Linked DNA regions of Homo sapiens: all the other regions are linked to region 2. The links are contacts of gene promoters, found by promoter capture Hi-C in human tissues and cell types (Jung and others, 2019). All regions are on one chromosome and are shown on one strand. Each heading gives the region's core, a stretch centred on a gene start or on the middle of the fragment in contact. The rest is flanking DNA. Distances are from core to core; before and after follow the strand shown.

Region 1 (4,072 bases), core at 1,468-3,967, 270 kb before region 2:
GCCACTGCACCCCAGCCTGGGCAAGAGTGAGACTCTGTCTCTAAGAAAAAAAAAAAAAAAAAAAAAGACACCAAACAACAACAACAACAAAAGCACCTGCACCCCACACAGCTGCTTCTTATATCCCAACTAACTGCTGTGGGACAAGGTGGGAAAGTTCACCAAGAGACACAGACTTCAGTCTACCAGCAGGTACAGCTCATTCTCCCGGGACGCCTGCGATCCTGCCCGGCATGCCTGAGCCGAGGCTGGCTTTCCAGCACCTAGACCAAGCTTGTCCAACACGTCTTACTTTGCTTTGTTCTGTTTTAGGCTTTTTGGCAGCCTGAAACCATGGTTTTTAAGTTTCTGTCTCTAGTAATAAGTGGAAAAGAGGGATAAGGGGCTTTACTGACCCAAACAGAAACCAACTGAGAACCCATGACTATATTCTCCCGTGCACACCCCTGAACTAGATCAAGCTTCCAACTAACACACCTGCAAGACAGCTGCAAAAGCTTTCAACCAACATGCCACTGATTTGCAGAGAATGGCGGAATTCTCCCATCGGCATTCACAGGCCTCCCCACAGACCACAACTGGAGCCTGTTCTGCCCATGCTCCTCCCCTGCCTCACAGAGACCTGCACCCACCGCCGCCAGCCGCTCTATCTGCGCACACCTGCTGCCTGTGCCAAGCCTGCTGAGCCCCCTAGCAGAGCCAATGCCCTGAGCAGCATCTGGCAACCAACGTCTCCACCAGCGTCCTCACTAGGCCACTTGGATGCACAGACCTCTGGCGATGTCCCAAGCCACCCTTAGTATCGCCTCAGCTACACCTCATCCTTGAAGGCCAAAGACCACAGGCCTATCCAAATTTTTGAAGCAGCAAGTACAGCTGTTTGCACAAAGGAGTGCAAAGATCTACTGCCTAGGCACAGGAAGGGGCACCGAGTAGGAAAGCACTATGGAAAGGAGCACCACAATGGTTCACCTCTCATGGCAAAGGACACGGGAAAGAGGTCAAGAATTGAATCTTGAAAAACCAACCCAACCACTCTGAGAACCTGACGAGATCACCTTACTCATGTAGGTCTGATCACAGCGGCAGGAGGGAATTCCGGGACAGAGATCGCACAGTCCCAATCAGAAAGAAGGTGTAACCGCAGCGGGAGAGGTGGCGCCCTGCCGGTCAGGACAGGAACAGTTTCCTGTGGCCACATGAAGTGACCTCAAAGGCAAGAAGCCCACATCCACCTCTCTGTGCCACTCATGTGCCACTCCAAAAAGCGGAATTAGGCGAGAGGTGCTGCAGAGTGGCAAGAAGCTGAAGGCTCTTAGCAAGAAAAAGTTCCTACAGAAGTAAAGATGCCTTTTTTTTTTTTTTAATTTTGAGACAGAGTCTCACTCTGTCGCCCAGGCTAGAGTGCAGTGGTGTCATCTCGGCTCACTGCAACCTCTACCTCCCAGGTTCAAGCAATTCTGCCTCAGCCACCTGAATAGCTGGGATTACAGCATGCACCACCACGCCCGGCTAAATTTTTTGTGTTTGTAGTAGAGACGGGGTTTCACCATGTTGGCCAGGCTGGTCTCAAACTCCTAACCTTGTAATCCACCTGCCCAGCCACATGCCATCTATTCTTGCCATAGCTATCCACAAATTAGTATTTGCAGGCAAATGACAGTAAGTTTTAATTTTTTTTTTTTTTTTTGAGATGGAGTCTCACTCTGTCACCCAGGCTGGAGTGCAGTGGTTTGACCTCGGCTCACTGCAACCTCCGCCTCCCAAGTAGCTGGGATTACAGGCACCCGCCACCATGCCCGGCTAATTTTTGTATTTTTAGTAGAGACGGGGTTTCACCACATTGGCCAGGCTGGTCTTGAACTCCTAACCTCGTGATTCACCAGCCTCGGCCTCCCAAAGTGCTGGGAATACAGGCATGAGCCACCGCGCCCGGCCAGTAAGTTTTAAAATATTTCTTTGGCCGGGTGCGGTGGCTCATGCCTGTAATCCCAGCACTTTGGGAGGCCGAGGCGTGTGAATCACGAGGTCCCGAGTTCAAGACCAGCCTGGCCAAGATGGTGAAACCCCATCTCTACAAAAATACAAAAAATTAGCCGGACATGGGGGCACGCGCCTGTAATCCCAGCTACTCTGGAGGCTGAGGCAGAGAACAGCTTAAACCTGGAGGGGCAGAGCTTTCAGTGAGCCAAGATTGTGCCACTGCACTCCAGCCTGGGCAATAGAGCGAGACTCTGTCGCAAAAAAAAAAAAAAAAAAAATTTTTTTTTTTTTTTTTAAATACACCGCTGGCCAGGCATAGTGGCTGTTGCCTATAACCCCAGCACCTTGGGAGGCCAAGGCGGGAGGATCACTTGAGCCCAGGAATTTGTAATAAGCCTGGGCAACATACACTCTGTCTCTACAAAAAAATAAATTAGCTGGGCATGGTGGCATGTGCCTGTGTTCCTAGCCACTCAGAGGCAAAGGTAGGAGGATTGCTTCAGCCTGCTACAGTGAGATCATACCCACTGTACTCCAGCCCAGATGACAGGGAGAGACTGTATTAAAAAAGAATCTTGCCCCTCTGATGAGCTGAAGGATGAATCTAATGACCACCTTTCTAGGGCCTTCATAAATTTGAAGAATACAGCTAACATAAAATGGACATCAACAGACCTGGCGTGATGGCTCACACCTGTAATCCTAGCACTTTGGGAGGCAGAGGCAGGTGGATCACTTGAGGTCAGGACTCAAGACCAGCCTGGCCAACACAGTGAAACCCTATCTCATTAAAAATACAAGAAAATTAGCTGGGTGTGGTGGCGGCAGTGCCAGCTACTCAAGAGTCTGAAGCAGGAGAACCACTTGAAACCGGGAGGTGGAGGCCGCAGTGAGCTGAGATCGCACCATTGCACTCCAGCCTGGGCAACAAAGCGAGACTCTGTCTTGAAAAAAAAAAAAAAAAAAAAAAAAGAAAGAAAGAAAAAAGAGGAGGAAATTGCTCTGCCACCTAACCAAAACTGAAAAAATAATTTCTCTGCATACGGATAGGCCTAAATACTCAAGACCTTCCAACTTTAGAAAACCTCTCTAGTCGGTCTAGATGCCTCTGTCAAAGGCATCAGCAAGTGCACAACTCACTCCATCCTGCTAACTGGACTGGACACCACAGCACCCTGGGGTAAGGAAACTCCTGCCCCAATTAGCAGGGCTTTGAAACACGCTCCAGGCCTAGGGAGCCAGAGGGCCATGAAACACTCTCCAGGCCTAGGGGGCCAGAAAGTCAAGTACACGCAGCAGTTTCCATTCCCACAGCCTGCACAACCTTATGCCAATTTTTTAAAAAGCCATCTGAAAAGACTTAAAGACAAATAATGCTACTGATATAGCAATAAAACACTAAAAGACCTAAATTTTTTACCTAGGTCTAAAACAACATCTTTTTTAAAAGCTTAAAAAAAACCAGCTGACTCTAAGAGAGCAGGGACATCAGGTAAACCCTGGCAGCCTGCACCCCAGAGGGCGGACCCCAGCCACTGAGGCCCACTGGGCCTTCTTACTCATTCCTCTGCCAAGAGGCTCTCCAAAGCTTCGAGATATCCCCATCTCCTTCCTGGCAAAGTCTCTTTCAAGTCCTCCACCCATGCCACGCTCCATCTCTGTGGAAAAATCACCCTAGGCCTTTCCAGGAATACCACTGTGTCTGAGACATCAAAAACAAAACAAAATGTATACACACGACAGCCACCACCAAGTCAGCATGTTTAACTCTTCTGCAGGAAACCATTATTCATTCTTCATTCCCTAAAAAACAAAGTCACTGCAACTGAATCCCTGAACAACCTACCTAACATAAGTCCATCAAGGACCAATGAACAACTTCCATTACAGCCACACAAACCACAATACTGGGTACACCAAGCATTCGCTACCACAGTAACCAAGAGGTCCCCTGCAGTGCAGCTAAATCAAACGTAGGCTGCAGAAGGTAACACCTACTAGGCACTCAACACATGCCCTACCCCAAAGGCTTTGTGTATAATTCCATCAACTCTTCACAACCATGCCACGCACGCCTGTTACCCTCCAC
Region 2 (4,618 bases), core at 956-3,455:
TATTCTCGTGATATTTTAATAGCCTGTTTAGCACGTATTCACAACCAGCCAGGCACTGTGTTCAGCTCTTTACCTATAGGTCATGACTGCTATTATCCCATTTTACAGGTGGAGAAACTGAAGCAGGAAGTGGTGAAGTCAGTAGCCCGGAGGCCCTCAACTCAAAGTGGCAGGACAGGGCTGGGGGGTGGTCAGGCTCAAGCCCAGCCAGTCGGAAAGGGAGAAGCTTGTGGTGCTCAGAGAAGGGGACAGGGCAGCGAGCTCCCAAGGCACCTGCCTTTCTGTGCCATCCCACGGGTGGGAGGAGGGAACCTGGGCCCACTTCTGCTGCCAACTACAGGCATCCCAGTGGCTCCTGAGCCAAGACATTCTGTGCCACGCACTGGGTCAACCGCTTTATTCAACCTGCAGACAGCCCTGGGTCAGGAGGTGGACACTGTTGTGAATTTCTCAGAGGAGAAATGGAAGCCCATACATCCCCCTGAACTCCCACCGGGCGTTAGAACCCTCTCCGGTTCCTTAGGGGTGTGGCTGCCACCGAGATCTGCCTAGCCTCGGCTTTCATCGATCCATGAACACTCCCAGGCTCAGATACTACTGACCCATTTTACAGATGGGTAAACTGAAGCTCAGAAACCTTTCCCTGGGGGCCCTACAGCCAGTTCAACGACCAAGGCCGCCCCCCACCCCCCACACCCCAGGCTCAAAGTACCTCTGCTGGCAGTGGGTGAGCTGGAAAAACAGGTAAGGAAAGTCCTCAATGCCTCTTCCTCCACGCCTGGCTGGGCCTGCTGGGGCCCAGGTGCACTGAATGAGGCTTCTAATCAGTCCCCCAGCTCCACTTCTGTGTTTATTCACAGCAGCTGCTCCTGGAAGGCAGACCCATTTGAGGCTGGGGGAGGCCGAGGGCTTCAAAGACAATTCCACAGTCCAGGAACCCTATCCCCATATAACAGACCCAGGTCGCCCCAGTGGGGTCACCCTGGCCTCTGCGCTCAGATGCCTGAGACCTTGCCTGAGCTCAGACTGGAGTCGATGGGAGCATTCCCCCATCTGGTAGGTTTTGCAAACCACAACAGCCTCTCCCCCTGCCCACCTTCCTGTGTCCCCCAGAGCAGCTTCTCCTCAAGTCTCCCAACCCAGCAATGAAAGCCTCTTCTATATACTCCTAACTACCCAGGAGAAACATCGGTCCCCCACGCTCCACTTGCAAACAGACAGAATTAGACGATGTTACTCTGCCAAAGCGAATTTTCAGTTCACCCACTTCCTATCACACCTTCCAGCCAGGTCAAGCCAGAAGCCCCCTTCCAAGTATCCCCATCTCTCCTACCCACAGCGGCTACGGGATGTTCTTAAGACACAATCCGATCACGCCATGCACCTGCTGTTCCAAGCCTCCCTGGTCCCCACCGCCCCGAGAACGGGTTCCACACTCTCCTCGCCGCTTCCCAGGCCCCGGCCAACCTCTCTCCACCTCAGACCCTCCCTCTCCGCGTTTCAGCCAGGCTGGCCTCTTTTCTGCTCCGCACACACTCCCGGCTAGGCCCTGGGCCTAAAAAGCCCTCGCTGGCTGGTCCAACCAGGCCAAATGACATTATCCCCGCCTGGGCACCTCCACCTCACCCCGGCCGCCTGATGGGTTAGCTCGGGCTTGGAATGACGTGTTTAAGCGGTTCTCAGAAGCCGTCTACGCGGCCGGGCTGCGGACTCCGAGGCCAGGGCCCCAGCTGCGTCCCCAGCCCTGGCACGTCGGGGAAACGGGGCGCTCCCCCGGCTCACACATCCGGATTCCCCCGCGTCACGAGGCCAGGATCGCCCCTACTCGCTCCAGCCCGTTTCACAGCCGCGTCCTCGGGCACCCGTTGCGCCCCGGCCCTCGTGGGGGAGCGCGGATAGCTCGGGGAGACGGCCATGATGGGAAGCCCCGAGGGGGACAGTCCCCGGCGGGGTGATGGGGGCTGGAGCCCAGCTGCGAGTGGGGGCCGGGCTGGGGCCGCCATGGCCGCGGAGGCGGGGCCGGGGACCGCCGTGAGGGTGGCGTTCGGGGCGGTGTTCGCGGCGCGGGGTGCTCGCTTACCTGGGGGTGCAGGCGGCCGGGCGCACCGAGGGCCGGCGGCGGGGCTGGGGACGGCGCGCCTAGCGGGCTACCCGGAGCAGCTGCAGACACGCGCCGCCCGCCCCAGGCAGCCGGACTCTGCTCCTGGCCGGGCCTCGGCCCCCAGCAGGGGAAAAAAGGCTTGAGTGGGGGGAGCCCGGGGCGGGGCCGTGGGGGCGGGGCCTGGGCGGGGCACGCGCCCCGGAACGGTGGGGCCTGGCGCGGGGCTGGGGCCCTGGAGAGGCGGGGCCTGGCGCGGGGCGGGGGACTTGGAGGGGCAGGGCCTGGAGCGGGCGCCGGGTCCTCCAGGCGCTTGCCCCCCTCGACGCAACTAGGCCTCTCCCTGGCCCCCGACCCCGCACCCGCACCCCATCCCCGCCCCCGTCCCCGCCCCCCCATTCTCGCCCCCGCCCCCGTTCCCGCTCCGCCCATCTCTGCCCCGCGGCGCGCCTGGCCCGGGTCCAGCCTAGCGTTTCTAGTCTGCGCCTTATCTCTCCCCTTTGAACCCAGTATTGTCCGCTGCGCGCTCCGTCCGGCCCCGGCTTCACCCCTGTTCGCTGTCTGTCTCCCCGGCCCCCTCCCAGGTCCCCTCTTCTGCCCGAGATGCTCTGGCTCTGCTCATCTGTCCACACCCCCACACTCCCGGGGCGCCCTGAGCCTCTGGGGCGCGCAGTTGGATGGTGCACAGGGGAGGCCCAGATTTCTCCAGGCCTCAGCGGCCACCCTGGGTACCCCGAGTCTGGGGCCCTGTTGGAGGGCCAGTCCAGGGGTTCGCCCGAGGCGCGCGCGGGGGCCAACCGAGGCGGTGAGGGCACCGGGCAAAGGCTGCGATTTGGTGGGGTGCAGGGGTCAGGCGACAGAGCTGGGGAGATAAGATGGGAGATAGGCCGGGTGGGTGGTGGCGCAGCCCTGGTTTTGGCTGAGGGCAGCAGCAGTGGGGGCTGGGTCCCCCGCTTGCCTGGTAGAACCGAAAATGACCCAGTCTCAGCAGCGCGCAGGGGCAGGGAGCCTGGGCGATCCCTGAACAGAGGACAGCCCCAGGGGTTTTCATAGTCGCTGGCCCACCGCATGTACTCTGGGCAAGTGGCTTCGCCTTTGGACAATAAGCCTCTGTAAAATGGGGATAATAAACCTTTCTCTGACTCAGCTCAGCAGACCCAAGACCCATGGGGTGAAGTTGGGGCCTCCCTGCCACAGGGCCCTAGGCAAGCTGAGATTTGATTTCCTCACACAGACAGGGGCGCGGGGGGCGGGGCGGTCAGGGAGGCAGGAGACCTCTGTTGCAAGTGTGGAAGAACCTGTCCCTCCAAGTTCAGACTCCTGGCGTTTGCACTTGGCCTTCCCTCTGCTACACTGTTTCTCTTTTCTTTTTTCTTTTTCTTTTTTTTTTTTTGAGACGGAGTCTTGCATTGTGGCCCGGGCTGGACTGCAATGGCATGATCTCGGCTCACTGCAACTTCTGCATCCTGGTTTCATTCGATTCTCCTGCCTCAGCCTCCCGAGTAGCTAGGATTACAGGCGCCCACAACACCCGGCTAATTTATATATATATATATTTTTTTTTTTGGAGAGACGGGGGTTTCACAATGTTGGCCAGACTGATCTCAAACTCCTGACCTCGTGATCCACCAGCCTTGGCTTCCCAAAGTGCTGGGATTACAGGCGTGAGCCAGCATGCCCGACCTTCTCTTTTCTTTTTTTAAAAAAATCTGTTAGAGGCTGGGTGCGGTGGCTCACACCTGTAATCCCAGCACTTTGGGAGGCTGAGGCGGGTGGATCACCTGAGGTCAGGAGTTTGAGACCAGCCTGGCCAACGTGGCAAAATCCCATCTCTACTAAAAACACAAAAATTAGCCTGGAGTAGAATTACGTGAACCCAGGAGGCAGAGGTTGCAGTGCGTGGAGATCGTGCCACTGCACTCCAGCCTGGACAACAGAGTGAGACTCTATCAAAAAAAATTTCGTTAAAGATGGGAGTCTCACTCTGTTGCCCAGGCTAGAATGGAATGTCATGATCCCAGCTCATTGCAGCCTGGGACTCCAGGGCTCAAGCAGTCCTCTCACCTCAGCCTCCAGAGGAGCTAGGACTATAGATGCCTGCCACCATGCCCGGCTAATTTTTTTTTGTTTTAAATAAAAAAACTTTGGTAGGCAGGGTGTGGTGGCTCATGCCTGTAATCCCAGCACTTTGGGAGGCCGAGGCAGGTGGATCACGTGAGGTCAGGAGTTCGAGACCAGCCTGGCCAATATGGCGAAACCCCTTCTCTACTAAAAATACCAAAGTTAGCTGGGCATGGTGTTGCGCACCTGTAATCCCAGCTACTCGAGAGTCTGAGGCAGGAGAATCACTTGAACCCAGGAGGCGGAGGTTGCAGTGAGTCAAAATCGTGCCGCTGCACTCCAGCCTGGGTGACAGAGCAAGACTCTGTCTCAATTAAAAAAAACAAAAAAAAAAACTTTGGTAGAGGTGGGGTCTTGCTATGTTGCCCAGGCTGGTCTGGAACGCTTAGGCTCAAGTGA
Region 3 (4,197 bases), core at 164-2,663, 280 kb after region 2:
GGTGGGGATGTGGAGAAACCTCTGGGCCAGAGTTTGGGGTTGAGGGAGGTCGGAGACCAGCAGACCTGTCTGTTTTTACCAAGGCTGAGTGGTTCCTGAGTCTAGGCAATTGTGCTGGCCTCTGCTCCCAGCCCCTGGGGAAGTTGCCGGTGGCTCCTGCCCCACAGAGCCTGGCCCCCCCCCAGAGCTGCCTGGGTCACCTCAACCCTCTCAACAGTGCCCTTCCCACCCCACCCTGCAGGACAAGGTGCTGCGGATGCTGTACGTGTGGGCGCTCTGCCGAGACCAGGACGAGCTCAACCCCTACGCGGCCTGGCGGCTCCTGGACATCTCGGCCTCCAGCACCGAGCAGATTCTCTGAGTGTGGTGCCGGAGCCAGGTAGCCCCGGCCTGGGTCATCAGGCACAGAGGCACCGCAACACCACCTGCGGCAACTCCAGACCTCTGGGAACAAGACTGCGGGCTCTGCCCCCAGCTCTGCCAGGACGGCTGCAAGACCAGCTGGCCCGGGAGGGGACAACGGGCTGTTGCGGGTGCGCGGCAGCTGGAGACACTCCCCCGCAGGGCCAACCCCTGCCCTGTTGCTCTGCCCTGCAGGGGTCCCGGCGCCTGGTCACCTGGGGTGCACACAGGTCACACAGTGCCAAGAGGCCCCAGGGCCCAGGGACTCCCCCCACAGCAGGGTGGGACCCGGGACCCGCGGCTCAGTGGCCCGCTAGCCACGTCAGCCAAGCCACTTTAGGTCCATTTTTTAATTTTAACAGTGCTCTTCCATCTTGTGCATAAGCCTGAGATTTGGAAAGAATAAAACACCGAATTGCAGAAGAGCAGCTACGGAGTCTGAAGTGTCTTCTCTGGCGCGGGAGTGGCCGAGGCGATGGTGGGGGTGGGAGCAGGCGGCTGCTGTGGGAGGCGGTCAAGGTCGAGTGAGGAACTGCAGCCGCAGTGGGTGGACGCCTTGCCCAGGGCTGGACCCTGAGTTGGAAGACGAGGCCAGTGACAGACAAAACTAGGGGGACTTACTCATCCCAGTGACCTGCCTGAGCTCTCTGAGAATTGAGGTCCCCAGGGCCGGGGGAGCTTGAGTGCCCATATGAGTGTTTTAGGGCCACTGAGGTCCCCCCACAAACAGGGAGTCTCGAGTGGGGTCTATCGCGGAGGAGAATGCAGGCACAGGGCAGGCTGGGGGGCCCGAAGTGCCAGGGGAGGTGGGAGTGGCAGCTGCCCACTCCCCGGCGAGGTCGTGGGTGCTCGCGGGTCCTCGGGGCTGGGGTTCCGTCCTCCCGCAGGCCCGGGCGGGGTCGCTGGCTCGCGCGCCGCTCCCTGCGCAGCCTCCGCCCCCTGCAGCCCCGCCCCCCGCGGCGGCCCCGCCCCCGTCGCCATAGGAACAGCCGCGGCGGCCCGGCTCGCGCGCTGCTTGCCTGCCTCGGTCTCCGCCGCTCCAGGGGCGGGTGGGGTGGGCTGAGCCGGAGCCCGGGCCGCCGCCGCCGCCGCCGGGGAGAGGCCGAACGCGCAGCCGGCGCGGGTCCCTGAGAGAGCGCGGCCGCCGGGCGGTCGGTCCCCGTCCGGGTCGAAGCCAGGGTGAGGGGCGCGCCGGGGCGGGGGCGGTGGGGGAGGGGGTCCCAGGCCGCCGAGAACAAAGGGAGCGGGGGCAGGGGCCGCGGGGACCGTCCCCACGCCGCGCGCCCGGGCCGCGGCCGCGCTTTCGCACCTGTTGTGTGCGGCCCAGGCCGGGCGCGGCTCCGTTTCCCGGCTCTCAGCGCCCCCACCTGCGCGCACGGCCAGAGTTGGGTCCCCGCGTGGTGGTGGCGGCGATCCGGCGGGCCGGGCATGGGCGTAGCCCGGGGACCGAGGCGCGGGCGGGGGATGGGGTCGGGCACGTTAAGGGAGGCGGCGGCGGCGGCGGCAGGAGGGGGCGAAGCGGAGGAGGCGCGGGAGGGAGGGCGCAGCCTCATCCCCGGCGCCCGGGGCGGGTCCCCTCCTCCGCAGGGCGCGCGGCGATGTGAGCCATGAGCGCGACGTGGACGCTGTCGCCGGAGCCCCTGCCGCCGTCGACGGGGCCCCCGGTGGGCGCGGGCCTGGACGCGGAGCAGCGCACGGTGTTCGCCTTCGTGCTCTGCCTGCTCGTGGTGCTGGTGCTGTTGATGGTGCGCTGCGTGCGCATCCTGCTCGACCCCTACAGCCGCATGCCCGCCTCGTCCTGGACCGACCACAAGGAGGCGCTCGAGCGCGGGCAGTTCGACTACGCGTTGGTGTGAGGGGCGCGGCGCCCCCTAGCCGGCCCTGCGCCGGGGTCTCAGAGGGCCGGCCCGGCGGGGGGCGCCGCGGGGCCAGGACTGCGCTCAGGATCCCGCCCCGGAGCCCCCAGCCCGGGGGAGAGGGGGAGGGAGTTGGGAGAAGCCCAGCCCCTCCCCCTCGAGACCCCTCCCATGTCCCTTCCTGGCCTGGCCGGAGCCCCACCTCGTGCCTTTATCCGCCCTGTCCCTTCCTCTCTGCGCATCTCACCCGCCCGGCTGGCCCCCACCCCCGACTCTGAATCCCGGGCGGGAGGAGGACCCCCGCACCGCCCCCTCCCCAGCGTGTAAGTGGCTCTGCTATTGTGCGTCCCTGGAAGTGGGGACCCCCTTGTCCCTCCTCCCTCCCCTGTTGTCTGGCCGTCGTCAACCCCACCTTGACTGAGTGTTGAGCCCGTCCTTGGGCTCTGGTCCCTGCGGGGCAGGCTCTCCCGGGCCCACGGGGCGGACGCTGCATACCAATTTGCCCTGCACCGCCTGTCCCGGAGACGGAGCCCGAAGGCCTGCCATGGCGGCTGTGTCGAGGATGCGTGGCGCCTGCCGTGGCGGGACAGCGTGGGCAGGCTCATTTCTGCCCCCAACCCGGGCCCCAGGACAGGTCAGCGCGCCCTGCCCCGGTGCCCACCGCTGCCCCCCATCCGCCCTCCTGCCACTTGCCCCTGACCCCCCTGCCGTGCCTCCCGCAGCCCTCCCATGCCGTTCCACTCCTCCCTGCCTCTGAGCCGAACATGATAATAAAAGCTATTATTGAGCGCTTACTGCATGCCAAGTAGCGTGCTGAGTTGGCACCTCCTGTTTATAGCCTGTCTCCTCTTCGGGATCGTGAGAATGAGCCAGGCCCTGTTAGCATCCCTATTCTACAGGCCAGGAGACCGAGGGCCAGGCAGCTCCAGTGACTGACTTGCCCACAGTCACATGGCTAGAGTCTGGTAGGGCTGGAAGTGGAACCCAGGTCTGGCTTTTGCATGTTTTTAAAGCTTCCCAGGGCTGCAAAGACACCAAGATCACAAGCACCTTTCACCGGCTTTGGGGGGGGGGGCTGATGTGTAACCCCCAGCTGCCTCCCCTCCACACACAATTCTGTTGATCTGGGGAGGCGCCGGGGGTGGTGAGAGAGACTCAGCCCTGTGGGGAACTGGGAGGCGCACCCTCTGCCAGCCCTGGAGGGAGGCTCCGACGACCGACCGTACCTGCAGCCTAAGCCTCCTCCCCCTGCCCACCACCATTGGCAGCGTTTGTGGGTCTGGTGCGGTGGGGCGGTGACCACGGACGGAGTGGGCTGGCTGTGCTCCAAGGCCCTCCCAAGAGATGTGCACCCCAGGGGAGCCGTGTGCAGTGTGTGGGGGGAGGAATGAGCGTTTCTATAAAAGGCAGGCTGGGTGAATGCACAGGCTCCGAGAACGGAGAATTTACCGACTTGGATTACTAGCTGGGCGTGGGACGCGGTGCCGTGGGAGGACATCTGCTTCCCTCTCTAGGACCCGACCCTCGGTCCACACCCACAGGGCAGGTGAAGCTGATGGAGGGGGCCTCAAGCGGGGTCCCAGCACCCCCAGGGGTTTGGGGTCAGCCCTGACTCCAGTACCCCTCCCTCCCCGCCTTCTAGGGATCCTTGAGGTCCCAAAGCCACCCCAGGGGACACTCCACTCCCACTAGCCTCCTGCCACTCGGGGCAGCCCACCCCTATCTATCTTCCTCTAACCGCCCAGCCTGGGGCTCAACTCCTTCCACCGGGTCACCCCCACTCTCTGCTGCCTTCTCCCCTCCACCTGTGCGATGTGATTTTGCCCTACTCTGAAACCCATCCCTGACGCCTGTCCCCAAGGTGCCCTGCCGGCTCTCCCCATCCACACTTGTCAGCTTCACAGTCACCAAGGGGCTCCTCACCCCAGGCCTCATCACA
Region 4 (4,197 bases), core at 206-2,705, 390 kb after region 2:
TCACTGCAGCCTCAAACTCTTGGGCTCAAGTGATCCTCCCACCTCAGCCTCCCAAGTAGCTGGGACTACAGCCACCACTCCCAGCGTTGTATATGGGTTCAGAAGATGGAGGAAGTGTGTGAGCCCAAGGGGCCAGGCAACCCTGGTGAGGCTGCCCCACCCCTTCTGTGGGATGTTGACAGTGAAACAGAAAAGCACCTCACTGAGGGCTACCACCACTCCATAAAAAAACTTTCACCCACCCTCCAATCGGATCACCCAATTGGATCACATGGGATCCAATTTTTCCAGTTCACTAAGGCAAGAACCCTGGGAGAGAGAAAGTCGTCTGTCCTTGCAATAAGGCAGAGCATCTAACTGAGCTGATGAACATCAGCCAATTGCGGACGGCAAAACTGAAAGAGCACGCTGTAACACATTCCCACGGGGCCCTCATGAGCTGTAAAGCATTCACCCCTAGACGCTGCCATGGGGTTGGAGCCCCACAACCTGCCTGTCTGCATGCTTCCCCTGGAGGTTTGAGCAGCGGGGCACAGAAGATGTGAGCCACACCCCCCGTCACACGCCCTGCAAGGGGGACAAGGGAACCTTTTCTGTTTCACTACCAACATCCCACGGAAGGGGTGGGGCAGCCTCACCAGGGTTGCCTGGCCCCTTGGGCTCGCACACTTCCTCCATCTTCTCCTCTCTACTCCCTTCTCTCTCCATCCCCTCTCTGGACTGTGGGTTTTTATAACCCCATGCATTGCAGCCCCTCAGAATCACATCTCTCCAAGCCAGGAAGAAGAATAAGGAACAGGATGGAGACACACCCTTCCTGAAAAGTGGGGTGAGAGATGAAGCACCTGACACAGAGGAGAGTCATTTAGAGGGCAGGCAGAAACTATCCAGTAAATTCCAGTGCCAAAAGACTCTATCTGAACCCATATACAACGCTGACACCTTGAGCCTCACTTTTTGGGAGTCTCAGTTTCCTCAGCTGTGAAATGAGACAACTACACTGCCTCACACTGTTATTGTGAGTTTTATTTATTTTTTATTATTTGTTTATTTATTGAGATGGAGTCTCGCTCTGTCTCCCAGGCTGGAGTGCAGTGGTGTGATCTCAGCTCACGGCAACATCTGCCTCTCGGGTTCAAGTGATTCTCCTGCCTCAGCCTCCAGAGTAGCTGGGATTAAAGGCACGCACCACTATGCCTGGCTAATTCTTGTATTTTTAGTAGAGACGGGGTCTCACCATGTTGACCAGGATGGCCTTGAACTCCTGACCTCAGGTGGGTCCACCTGTTTTGGCCTCCCACAGTGCTGGGATTACAGGTGTGAGCCACCATGCCTGGCCATGTTACTATGAGTTTTAATACAGTGCACTAGTAATAGGTATAAATTGCCTATTTGAATGATGGATACTCAGTAATTACAGCACTTAAGATTTATCACGCTGGGCCCGGTGGCTCATGCCTGTAATCCCAGCACTTTGGGAGGCTGAGGTGGGCAGACCACTTGAAGTCAGGAGTTCGAGACCAGACTGGCCAAAATGGTGAAACCCTGTCTCTACTAAAAAACACAAGAACGAGGACTGGGAAAGCTGAGACACCGCCGGGTTGGAAGTGCTGCAGCCCCGGGAATGAGTATGTTCGAGTGAAAGGAGACCATGTGATTGGCATAGTGACAGCTAAATCTGGAGATACATTCAGAGCTGATGTTGGAGGGAGTGAGCCAGCTTCTTTGTTTTACTTGGCGTTTGAAGGTGCAACTAAAAGAAACAGACCATATGTGTAGGTTGGAGATCTCATCTATGGCCACTTTGTGGTTGCTAATAAAGACATGGAACTAGAGATGGTGTGTATTGACAGCTGAGGACGAGCCAATGGAATGGGTGTCATTGGACAGGATGGTCTGCTTTTTTTTTTTTTTTTTTTTGAGATGAAGTTTTGCTCTTGTTGCCCAGGCTGGAGTGCAATGGTGTGATCTTGGCTCACCGCAACCTCCGCCTCCCAGATTCAAGCAATTATCTTGCCTCAGCCTCCTGAGTAACTGGGATTACAGGCATGCGCCACTGCACCCAGCTAATTTTGTATTTTTAGTAGAGACGGGGTTTCTCCATGTTGGTCAGGCTGGTCTCGAACTCCCGACCTCAGATGATCTGCGTGCCTCTGCCTCCCAAAGTGCTGGGATTACAGGCGTGAGCCACCGTGCCTGGCCCTGATGGTCTGCTTTTTAAAGTGACTTTGGGCTTAGTTAGAAAGCTATTAACTCCAGGTTGTGGAATCATACAGGAAGTGGGAAAACTTTATTCCCTGGAGATAGTATTTGGAATGAATGGAAGAATATGGGTCAAAACAAAAACCATCCATCAAACTTTAATTTTGGCAAACATTTTGGAAGCTTGTGAACACATGATGTCAGATCAAAGAAAACAAATCTTCTCCAGACTGGCAGAAAGTTGATACAGGTGGATTTTTTTTTTTTTTTTTTTTTTTTTTTTTGAGACAGAGTTTTGCTCTTGTCGCCCAGGCTGAAGTGCAATGGTTTGATCTCGGCTCACTGCAACCTCTGCCTCCGGGTTCAAGCAATTCTCCTGTCTCTGCCTCCTGAGTAGCTGGGATTACAGGTGTGTGCCACCATGCCTGGCTAAATGTTGCATTTTTAGTAGAAATGGGGTTTCACCATGTTGGCCAGGCTGGTCTTGAACTCCTGACCTCAGGTGATCCACCTGCCTTGGCCTTCCAAAGTGTTGGGATTACAGGCATGAGCCACTGAGCCCCGCCTAGGTGGACTTTTTTTTTTTTTTTTTTTTTTTTTTTTTTTGAGACAGTCTTGCTCTGCCACCAGGCTGGAGTGCAGTGGCATGATTTTGGCTCACTACAATCTCCACTTCCTGGGTTCAAGCGATTCTTCTGCCTCAGCCTCCTGATTAGCTGGGGCTACAGGTTTATGCCACCACGCCCAGCTAATTTTTGTATTTTTAGTAGAGACGGGGTTTCACCATGTTGGCCAGGATGGTCTTAATCTCTTGACCTCGTGATCTGCCCGCCTTGGCCTCCCAAAGTGCTGGGATTACAGGTGTGAGCCACCGCACCTGGCTCTAGGTGGACTTTTTTAATGGGTCAGTTGAGCCAAGAAACTATGGGTTTCCTGGGGAAAACTTTTTTCAGGTGAACCTTTCCCCATTTAAATACTCAGGAGACAAGGTATGAATGTACATATTATCTTATTAGAGTCCTAAATAAAATATTTTTATAAGTAAGTTACTGGTTTTCACCCATGCTTTTGTGGGAGAGAAAATCATGCAGAATCATGATGTATTTTTTTTTGTTCTGTACAACAAAGTTTGCTAAAACATTAAAAAAATAAAAAATACAAAAACTATCTGGGCATGGTGATGCATGCCTGTAATCTCAGCTACTGGGGAGGCTGAGGCAGGAGAATTGCTTGAACCCAGGAGTCAGAGGTTGCAGTGAGCAAACAGCCTGGGTGATAGAGTGAGTGAGACTCCATCTCGAAAAAAGATTTATCAGACATTGTTCTACATGCTCTACATAACATAGCTAGTTTAATCCTGAGAGGAGAAGAGTGGTCAAGAGCAGGCCTGAAGCTCACAGCTGGCTTTGGTGTTGCTAGGAGCTGCCCTGGGCTTCCTAGGTGGCCAGAGTGTTCTAGGAGCTGGTCTGGTCTTCCAGCTGATCATGGCATGGCTAGAACTTTACCCAGCACTTCCACCTAGGTTATGATGTTGTCCTCTTGAATATAAACAATTTCACAGAACATCAACATCAAGCAAAAACGTTTGTAGCTGTAAATGTGTACATAGCAAGACAAAAGTGAGATCACTCTGTAAGCATGTCTGAACACAGACAAAATGTGAGCACTGTCCAAACCAGACATAACCAAACATTCCTATATTCTGGCTAATTGGAACAACCTTTCTCTCTTAGTCTGTTGGGGCTGCTCTAATAAAACATCATAGGCTGGGTGGATTATAAACAGTAGAAATTTATTGCTCACACTTCTGGAGGCTAGAAAGAGCAAGTCTCGATAAAAGATTTATCAGACATTGTTCTACATGCTCTACATAACATAGCTAGTTTAATCCCGAGAGAAGAAGAGTGGTCAAGAGCAGGCCTGAAGCTCACAGCTGGCTTTGGTGTTGTTAGGAGCTGCCCTGGCCTTCCTAGGTGACCATGGTGTTCTAGGAGC
Region 5 (4,502 bases), core at 115-2,614, 390 kb before region 2:
GAGGATCACTTGAGGTCAGGAGTTCAAGACCAGCCTGAGCAACATACCAAGACCCCCATCTTTAACAACAACAGCAACAAAAAACCCTAATAGCAGGTTTAGCCTAAGACCCGACACACAGTAGGTGCCTGATGAAAGCAAGCTGTTATCATTGTTTTTGCTTTTCATTTTCTACCCTGGGCTCCTCTTAAGACTCGGTCTCTCTTGTTTCTTGGAGGTCAGGTTGCCAAACTTTTCCAGGACTCGAGTCTGGGAAGCACCGTTAACATCCTCGTAACTCGCCTCATCCTGCTCACGGAGGACCAGGTGCGGGGGACTTCCTCCCCTTCCCCTTCCCCTTCATACCAGCATGTCCTGCCGTCCCCTGGGTGGTGGGTGCCCATGCATTTCCCTCTGTCCATCCCCAGCCCACTCTGGAGATCACCCACCATGCCGGGAAGTCCCTGGACAGCTTCTGTAAGTGGCAGAAATCCATCGTGAACCACAGCGGCCATGGCAATGCCATTCCAGAGAACGGTGTGGCTAACCATGACACAGCAGTGCTCATCACACGGTGAGGGGACAGGAGAGGTCTAGGACTGGGGCTGAGAAAACAGATGGTCCAGGGAACCATGAGAGTCCAAACAGAGATCACTTCTGCTAGGGTCAGGAGGAGCAGAGAAGTTTGGGCTGCCCATGAGGGAGCCAGGGATGGGGAGGGGCTGCTTGAGAATAATGGGTAAGGGAGGTTTGGGACCATTTGGGCACCGATGCCCTCATTCACTTATTCTCCCACTCATGCATGCATGCATGCATTCATTCATTCATGTGGTCAGTCACTCCTGTATGCAGCTTCAGGTGAGAGGCAGATGGCGCCTCCAAGGCAGGACTCAACCCCCAGAGCTGGGCATGGTGGCATCAGCAGGGCTTAGGGAGACAGCCCAGCCCCCTCACTGACCCTGTCTCCTTTTACAGCTATGACATCTGCATCTACAAGAACAAACCCTGCGGCACACTAGGTACCCGAGCCCCGTAGGTTTCAGGCGCCTATGAAGGCAGTGGGCTGGGGTGAGACCTGGCAGGTGGATGGGGCCAGCCAGCACCGTCCTGAGCCTCCCAGCCCCATCCCCACATGTCCGTCTTCCCAGGCCTGGCCCCGGTGGGCGGAATGTGTGAGCGCGAGAGAAGCTGCAGCGTCAATGAGGACATTGGCCTGGCCACAGCGTTCACCATTGCCCACGAGATCGGGCACACGTGAGGCCAGGGCACACAAGAGGGGGAGGAGGGGAGGAGCTGGGCGGGTCCCTCAGCGCCCGGCAGAGCCGACACCCCTTTCCCCAGATTCGGCATGAACCATGACGGCGTGGGAAACAGCTGTGGGGCCCGTGGTCAGGACCCAGCCAAGCTCATGGCTGCCCACATTACCATGAAGACCAACCCATTCGTGTGGTCATCCTGCAGCCGTGACTACATCACCAGCTTTCTAGAGTGAGGATGCACCTGGGTGTCCCTCAGAGCGGGTCACACTCATGGTGGGGCAGGGTACACGGGAGACGATAGAAATCAGGGATGCTCCCTGGGACCCCCATCCAGCTGAGGCTCCTGAGCTCTTGATTTGCAGCCACCTAGCATGACAGTTGCTTTTCTCTCGAGGCAGCTCGGGCCTGGGGCTCTGCCTGAACAACCGGCCCCCCAGACAGGACTTTGTGTACCCGACAGTGGCACCGGGCCAAGCCTACGATGCAGATGAGCAATGCCGCTTTCAGCATGGAGTCAAATCGCGTCAGTGTAAATACGGGGTAGAGAGAGTCTTCCTGCTTTCCTTCCTGGGAGGGGAGGGGGCCGCTGGGGCTGGGGGAGGGAACTCCACCAGGGCACCCACCTGGGAAGTGAGGGGGTGGGAGAACCGGGAAGGGGGGTGAGGTGAGCCCCCATGGTGACCTGGGAGGACAGAGGTGCATGGAGTGTGCAAAATGTCCTAAGCAATCAGACAGTGCTTGGGAACAAAAATGGGATCACCTGCTTCTCCAGACCCCTGATTTGAGGGCTGGGCTGGGGGGCCAGCTTCTGTCTGGCACATCACACCCCCTGTGGGCTACAGCAGGATCAAAGTCTCAAGACCTCTCACGGGGCAGTTTTTAACTAAACATCCAGTCCTGACGGAAATAATTTCCCTGGGGATGAGCCATCTTTCCTACTTGGCAAAGAACTAGACAGAACCTTCCAGGGACTCCCTGTCTGGAGGAGCTCTGAGCCTCCTGACCTCTCCCCACCCTTTCCTGAGGTTTAGATTCCCAAAGCCCCATTCGTGCATAGAGAAGGGCATTGGGGGGCAGGAGGTTCCACTCCCAGCTCCCCCCAGGAAGCTGAAGACCTGCTGGCTTCCTGCTTCAGCCACCAAGGTTCAGCCAGGATCTGCTCCTCCTCTGCCCACCTGCCTCGATTCCCTAAATGCACCCCTAAGCTCCTCACAGTCTCAGCCCTAGGGGCCCAGGTTCAGCCCCAGTTCTTCACACTATCACAACTCAAACGATCAGAGTTTTTGTGATGCCATGTTAATGCAAAGCAGAGGGCAAGCAGCTGCCAAATTGCCCTCCCTTCATTCCACTGCAAGACAGAGACAAACCCTGGAACAATTTCTATTTCACTGACATTCCACCCTTGACACCCCCCAACATCCTAACTTAGCTGGTAACTGCAGCACCCTCTAAGGAATTCCTAAAGAATTCTGAAGCTACTCCTCAACATCTGCTGTGACCCAGGTATCCTAACAATGATCATGGTGTCTGACATTTACTGAGCTCTCACTATGGGCTAAGCATGTGCTGTGTGTCACCATCTAAACTCCTGACAATCCTGCTAGCCCCCACGTTACAGAGGAAGGGACTGAGCCATAGCATAGGGAGGATGACTTGTCCAAGGCCACAGTTTGAGACCATGACAGAGCTGGGATTTAAATCCAGGTCTCTCATGACTCTCTAAATTTTACAAAGGGGCAGGGGAGGGGAGGAGCTGTCAAAATATCAAGCTTGGGCTGGCACTGGCTATATGTTGAATTGAGCCTTCCTTTTAGTTTTTGAAGGAACATCTTTCAGGCCATCTTGGCAAAGGGGGATTTATTTACTAAATGTGAACTGGTTAATATATGTAAAGGGTTCAGCCTGGTGCCTGGTCCAGAGATAGTGGTGGTCATTGTTACCCCATAATGGCATTGGTGCAAGTCCTTTCTTATCTATCCTGTCACGTGCCTCATAGCCATTTATATAGGCAAGACAGGCATTAGGCTGCCCATCTTGTAGATGAGTAAACTGAGGCCCAGAGAGGGGAAATATATTGCAAGTTGGTAGCAGAATTGAGGTCTCTGCACAACTCAAATATGCCACAGTGCCTCCTTGTGGAGAGGAGGACAAAAGCAGAGCTGAAATCATTATCTTGAAGAGGTGTCAGAAGTGGGATTGCGACAGGACTGATGTGATATTTTTAGATATGGCCAAGAGGACACAGTCTGAGTTTTTAGCTGAGAAATGTCCTCTATAAGGCAGAAGGCAGAGATTCTAGAGGACCTTTGAGGGAGAATGTATTTGAGAACAACTCTTCCAGCTTCTTACATATGTACAGGTATCTCTCAGGGGCTGACCTAGGAAGGGTCCTTTCCTGTGGCCATTGATCGATCCAGTCCCACATCTGGAAAGCTTACAAGAATTGGGTTCAAAGCGGGGATTACACTTGATAATTACAGAAGGACCACCTACTTCTTAGAGGAAAGACGCTGGGAGGTTGCTTAGGATGTGGGCCAAGAGGGTCAGAGAGGACCACCTACTTTTTAGAGGAAAGACGCTGGGAGGTTGCTTAGGATGTGGGCCAAGAGGGTCAGAGATTTTGCTTCACCTGAACTCACTGGGGCTTCTCCAGGGATATTAACCTGGACTTTAAGAGTCAGAGTGAGTCCCTGGGACTAGTTCAGCCCATCCAGGATTCAGACGGGAAGAAGGTGGGGCTGATTTTTCACCTGGAGAAAGAGAGGCATGTCCCACACAGACCTAACTCGGCATTGTCCCCTCCCAAACTCCCACCCCTCCACATAGCTTAAAAGTGTTGGGGGCTTCTCCAGTTTAGATGGGGGAACAAAGAGAACCAACAGCTGGAAAAAACTAGAGATGAGGCCGTTGGCCTAGTCATCATCCAGGCCGATTTCTCAGAACCACCACTTTCTCTTCGGCTACTTTGCCCATCCCATAAAAGAACCCCAAATCCTTCCTGTTCATTCCTCAGCAGTTCCCACGTTTCCTTCCAGAAACTCAGAAGGCACCAGGAACTGAATTGCAAAGTTCGTTAGAGCACAGACTCTGAATTAAAGAGCTGGGTTAAACTCCAGGCTATTCCCTTAGTAGCTGTGTGACCTTACCTGTCTGAAGCTTGGTTTTCTCCCAGTAAGATGGGGTAGTACTGCCTAAAGAGGTATATGGCATGTATAAAGTGCTCCATAAATGGAGCTTATTGGGAGAGTATAAGTCACAGGCCAT
Region 6 (4,613 bases), core at 1,376-3,875, 270 kb after region 2:
GACAACAACAAAAAATTGTTTTTTAGAGATGGAGGTCTCGAGGGGGCATGGTGGCTCATGCCTGTAATCCCAGCATTTTGGGAGGCTGAGGTGGGAGGATCACCTGAGGTTCAGGAGTTCGAGACCAGCCTGACCAATATGGAGAAACCCCGTCTCTACTAAGAACACAAAATTAGCTGGGTGTGGTGGCACATGCCTGTAATCCCAGCTACTTGGGAGGCTGAGGCAGGAGAATCACTTGAACCTGGGAAGCAGAGGCTGCGGTGAGCCAAGATCGCGCCATTGCACTCCAGCCTGCGCAACAAGAGTAAAACTCCATCTCAAAAAAAAAAAGGCCGGGTGTGGTGGCTCACGCCTGTAATCCCAGCACTTTGGGAGGCCGAGGCAAGCGGATCACGAGGTCAGGAAATCGAGTCCATCCTGGCTAACATGGTGAAACCCTGTCTCTACTAAAAATACAAAAAATTAGCTGGGTGTGGTGGCAGGCACATGTAGTCCCAGCTACTCGGGAGGCTAAGGCAGGAGAATGGTGTGAACCTGGGAGGCGGAGCTTGCAGTGAGCCAAGATCGTGCCACTGCACTCCAGCCTGGGCGACAGAGTGAGACTCTGTCTCAAAACAACAAAAAAAGAGATGGAGGTCTCATGCTGTCACCCAGGGTGGAGTGCAGTGGGTGATCATAGCTCACTGCAGCCTCTAACTAATGGGCTCAAGAGATCCTCCCACCTCAGCCTCCTAAGTAGCTGGAATTCCAGGCGAGAGACACCATGCTTGGCTTATTTTTTTATTTTTGTAGAGATAGGGTCTCGTTATGTTGCCCAGACTGGTCTGTAACTCCTGGGCTCAAATGATGCTCCTGCCTCAGGCTCCTGAGTTGCTGGGATAATAGGACTGAGCCACGGATCCTGGCTTAAAGGAGTCTTCTATCTCCACTTTATCTTTGGGTCTTTGACATGCTTATATGACACACTGCCTCTGAGTGTCCAATGCTGTAGTTTTCTTTCTTTCCTTTCTCTCTCTCTCTTTCTTTCTTCTTCTTTTTTTTTGACACAAGGTCTCTCTCTGTTGCCCAGGTAGTGTAGTGTAGTGTAGTGTAGTGTAGTGGCACGATCACGGCTCACTACAGCCTTAACTTCCCGGGCCTCAACGATCCTCCCATCTCAGCCTCCTGAGTAGCTGGGACTACAAGCACATGCTACCACGCCAAGCTAATGTTTTGTATTTGTTGTAAAGAAGAGGTCTTCACTATGTTGCCCAGGCTGGTCTCAAACTCTTGGGCTGGAGAGATCCTCCCGCCTCAGTGTCCCAAAGTGCTGGGATTATAGGCATGAGCCACCGCGCCCGGCCAAACTCCGTACTTTCAACCACAACTAAGAATCCATATTTCTAGCCCAGACCTTATTCTTAGCAACACACCTGTGTACACCAACCGCTTAACTAGTTTGCTCCTCTTGGCATCAAGACATCTCGAACAAAGCCAGAGTGGAAGCCCTCATCTCTTACCCCCACCTTGAGGGGGAGCTCCTGAGATGGAGAACACAAGTCTATCCATCGCAGAAGCCAGGAATGCATGCTCTCCGGGGCCAAGCTGCCTCCCTTTGAAATAATGAAGTCCCATAAACCCATATCACAGGTTAGTAATGCAAAAAGACCGGGTGCGGTAGCTCACGCCTGTAATCCCAGTGACTCAGAGGCTGAGGCAGGAGGATCGCTTGAGCTTGGGAATTGGAGGCTGCAGTGAGCTAGATTACGACACTGCACTCTAGCCTGGGTGACAGAGCAAGCCTCTGGCTCTATAAAAAAAAAAAAGGATCCAATAAGACAAACAGCAACAGCAACATACATTAGCTCTCCCAGGGGACCAACCCTCCTCCTCATACCCGGATTGCATGGCCATGTTAAAATACCGCCACCTGGTGGCGGCATTCTTCGAATGGAAAATAGCATCTGGGGTGCTGAAATGACAAAGGCCTGAGCGTCTTCAGATCAGAGTGTCAGTTCACACTGAATCGAAGTAGGACTGGACCACAGTCAGCCCGCTCTCAGCTTCCTCTTCTTATTCGGGGTCAAAACCAACAGGCGTCTTCCCAAAGCGCCGCACAAGAGTGGGCTCCTTCGCTTTCTCGGAGCGACTCACTTGCTGGTCTCTCAGCCATTGTCAATCAATCAGTCATTGCAGGGGCAGCCATAGACAATTACTCTGGAGCTGGTCCGCCGGTCAATCAGAATCCAATCGAATCCGTCCTTGTGGTCGGTGGATCCACGTGCCTGTACCACCTGCCACCAGCGCCCGGCGCGTTCTGTAGCCGAATCACCGCAAGTGACGGAATACACGCCCCTGGGCTCCGCCCCCTCGTAGTCGCGCCCAATCACAGATCTGACCCTCCCAGGAGTGCCCTCCCCCGGGCCACATCCAGTCACGGGCCCCGTCCTTCCAAAACACTGCCCTATCAGAGGTCAAGCTCTCTAGGCATTCCCTACCCTTTTAATGCCCCGCCCTATGACGGACCCAATCGGAGGGCTCTCCCTACCCGAAACCCCGCTCCTGGAGCGGCTTTTCTCAGGCTTGCGCGGCTCTAGGCCGAAGCGGCGGATGACGCAACCGGGCCGCGCCGCGAGAAGGTCACACGATTCTCCAACATGGCGGCGGCGGCCCTGCGGAGTGGCTGGTGCCGCTGTCCACGGGTGAGCGGCGGTGCGGCGCTGGCAGGGCGAGCTTAGGGGTCTTCTGGGCCTTCGGCCACCAAGGCTTTCTTCTCAGACCCTTGGCCTTCGCGACCCTTGCTTGGGCTCCTTAGAAAGCTTGGGGTTAGATCTTTGGGTAGCAGAGGCCAGGACAGGGGGCACAGAGCGTGGCCTGAGGGCGGGGACCGAGCTTACCGGGCAGGGGGCGGCGATGCGCGGGACCTGGGAGGGAGCTGATCACCCTTCGCCCTCTGATCAGACTCCACGTATACAGGAGAGAGAATGGTAGCCGGGGCGGCGGCGTCCCGTGGAAAAAAGTAGAGGGGAAGGCAAAAAAACGTGAAATTCACAGCTCGCGGTTAAATGCCAAGTTCTCTACCGAGAGCATTTCTTGTCTCGTTTCTTCTAACGTTCATTGTGGATGTGCGAGAGGTGGTTCGCGCCCTAGCAGGCTCTTGGGTCCACAGGGCAGTGGCAGTCAAGACGTGTAAGGCGCACTCAGAAAGTAGTACTTCATATTGCTCGTGCTCTTCGTTTTTTCTTTTTTCTCTTTTTTTTTTTTTTTTGAGACAGAGTTTCGCTCTTGTCGCCCAGTCTGGAGTGCAATGGCGCGATCTCGGCTCACTGCAACTTCTGCCTCCTTCTGCCTCCGGGTTCAAGCGATTCTCCTGCCTCAGCCTCAGGTGGATCACCTGAGGTCAGGAGTTCGAGATCCACTGGCCCACATGGTGAAATCCCATCTCTACTAAAACCCCATCTGTACTAAAAATACAAAAAAATTAGCCGGGCATGGTGGCGCGCTCCTGTAATCCCAACTACTTGGGAGGCTGAGGCAGGAGAATCACTTGAACCCGGCAGGCGGAGATTGCAGTGAGCCGAGATCCTGCCACTTTACTCCAGCCTGGGCAACAGAGGGAGACTCCGTCTCAAAAAAAAAAAAAAAAGTTATCCTCAAGTAAATACAGGAGATAGTAGGCACCTGTGTAAGTTTGGGATGTTGCATAGGGTTCTCAGAGGTAGGAGGCAGAGAACAGAGAGAAAAACGGCCCAGGAAATGTGGAAATGGTGGAGAAGTTGTACCTGGTCTTTTGACATCAACACGCCAGGTTCTGTGCTGGGTGACAGGGTGCCGAGCTGAACAGGACCTGCACAGAGCTTTTTTTTTTTCCCCCAATTTTTTATGGAGGCAGGGTCTAGCTATGTTGCCCAGGCTGGTCTCAAACTCCTGAGCTCAAACGATCCTTCCGCCTCAGCCTCCCAAAGTATCGGGATTACAGGCATGAGCCACCAGCTCAGTGCCTGCACAGAACTTAAGGCAAGATCTCGGCTCACTGCACCCTCCACCTCCCGGGTTTAAGCAATACTACAGGTGTGTGGGACTACAGGTGTGTGCCACCACGCCCGGCTAATTTTTGTATTTTTGGTAGAGACGGGATTTCACCATGTTGGCCAGGCTGATCTCGAACTCCTGACCGGGTGATCCTCCCACCTCAGCCTCCCAACGTGTTGGGATTACTGGCGTGAGCCACCGCGCCCAGCCAGCAAGTGCCTTTTACATGAGATCAGCCCAGTCTTTGCCCAGAGCGACTCCCCTAAATTACTCTGTTTATAGCTCAACCCTTGAGGAGGACATTGTAGGTTTATTCCAGAGTTGTCCCTGGGGCAACACATTATCGATGTTTGTGTCTGAAAAATCCAGTTCTCTCATCTTTGGAGGCTGGCAGAAATGGGGTGGGCTCGCAAGAGAAGACTGCTTGCCACTAGCATAGAAGCTTAGAGTGCCTACTTTCAGACTAAGGGATTAAATTGTACATTTAGCCTTCTTCCCCCCATGGGTTGGCATTTCCTGGGACCTGTCCGTTTTCCCCCAGTTTCAGGGGCACGAGGATAGATGTAGGCCCTGGAGGTACAGACACAGCATTTTCTCTT

Evidence for each region. Contacts are between HindIII fragments. The study calls those that stand out against the background at their distance.
Region 1: a contact is called between a fragment that was not itself captured here and the fragment with the promoter of CERS4 in region 2, in 2 of the 25 tissues and cell types used here (heart right ventricle and spleen).
Region 3: the fragment with the promoter of CTXN1 here is called in contact with the fragment with the promoter of CERS4 in region 2 in 2 of the 25 tissues and cell types used here (lymphoblastoid cells and thymus).
Region 4: a fragment that was not itself captured here is called in contact with the fragment with the promoter of CERS4 in region 2 in 1 of the 25 tissues and cell types used here (H1 embryonic stem cells).
Region 5: a contact is called between a fragment that was not itself captured here and the fragment with the promoter of CERS4 in region 2, in 3 of the 25 tissues and cell types used here (H1 embryonic stem cells, mesenchymal stem cells and spleen).
Region 6: a contact is called between the fragment with the promoter of TIMM44 here and the fragment with the promoter of CERS4 in region 2, in 1 of the 25 tissues and cell types used here (dorsolateral prefrontal cortex).

Annotation. Positions count from the first base shown.
Region 1 is chr19:8,477,962-8,482,033 of GRCh38, reverse strand. The region is part of intron 12 of HNRNPM (heterogeneous nuclear ribonucleoprotein M); the gene reads right to left. Among named protein-coding and RNA genes, the nearest start is that of PRAM1, 23 kb to the left of the region's middle. The HindIII fragment of the contact is 4,476 bases long and covers 480-4,072 here.
Region 2 is chr19:8,206,957-8,211,574 of GRCh38, reverse strand. It overlaps CERS4 (ceramide synthase 4), which reads right to left and starts at 2,205. Exons shown (of 12, transcript NM_024552.3): 1 at 2,081-2,205; 2 at 713-869. RefSeq lists a silencer at 1,605-2,524. The HindIII fragment of the contact is 7,028 bases long and covers 1-4,618 here.
Region 3 is chr19:7,923,351-7,927,547 of GRCh38, reverse strand. It overlaps CTXN1 (cortexin 1), which reads left to right and starts at 1,413. Exons shown (of 2, transcript NM_206833.4): 1 at 1,413-1,581; 2 at 1,990-3,057. The coding sequence starts at 2,010. The coding sequence ends at 2,258. It overlaps TIMM44 (translocase of inner mitochondrial membrane 44), which reads left to right. Exons shown (of 13, transcript NM_006351.4): 13 at 242-830. The coding sequence ends at 361. LOC124904629 (a long non-coding RNA gene) reads right to left here and starts at 2,143. Exons shown (of 2, transcript XR_007067120.1): 1 at 1,712-2,143; 2 at 738-975. RefSeq lists an enhancer at 1-732 and silencers at 1,229-1,498, 2,029-2,118. The HindIII fragment of the contact is 9,564 bases long and covers 1-4,197 here.
Region 4 is chr19:7,811,860-7,816,056 of GRCh38, reverse strand. The region is part of intron 1 of LOC124904628 (a long non-coding RNA gene); the gene reads right to left. It also overlaps the pseudogene EXOSC3P2. Among named protein-coding and RNA genes, the nearest start is that of EVI5L, 16 kb to the left of the region's middle. RefSeq lists an enhancer at 393-442. The HindIII fragment of the contact is 3,832 bases long and covers 1-3,371 here.
Region 5 is chr19:8,593,038-8,597,539 of GRCh38, reverse strand. ADAMTS10 (ADAM metallopeptidase with thrombospondin type 1 motif 10) reads left to right here. Exons shown (of 26, transcript NM_030957.4): 7 at 223-306; 8 at 408-553; 9 at 955-998; 10 at 1,128-1,233; 11 at 1,321-1,467; 12 at 1,637-1,778. Among named protein-coding and RNA genes, the nearest start is that of ADAMTS10, 15 kb to the left of the region's middle. The HindIII fragment of the contact is 8,071 bases long and covers 1-4,502 here.
Region 6 is chr19:7,941,678-7,946,290 of GRCh38, reverse strand. TIMM44 (translocase of inner mitochondrial membrane 44) reads left to right here and starts at 2,625. Exons shown (of 13, transcript NM_006351.4): 1 at 2,625-2,684. The coding sequence starts at 2,640. RefSeq lists enhancers at 1,431-1,973, 1,974-2,517, 2,522-2,891, 2,518-3,060, 3,061-3,604 and a silencer at 2,422-2,491. The HindIII fragment of the contact is 7,251 bases long and covers 1-3,629 here.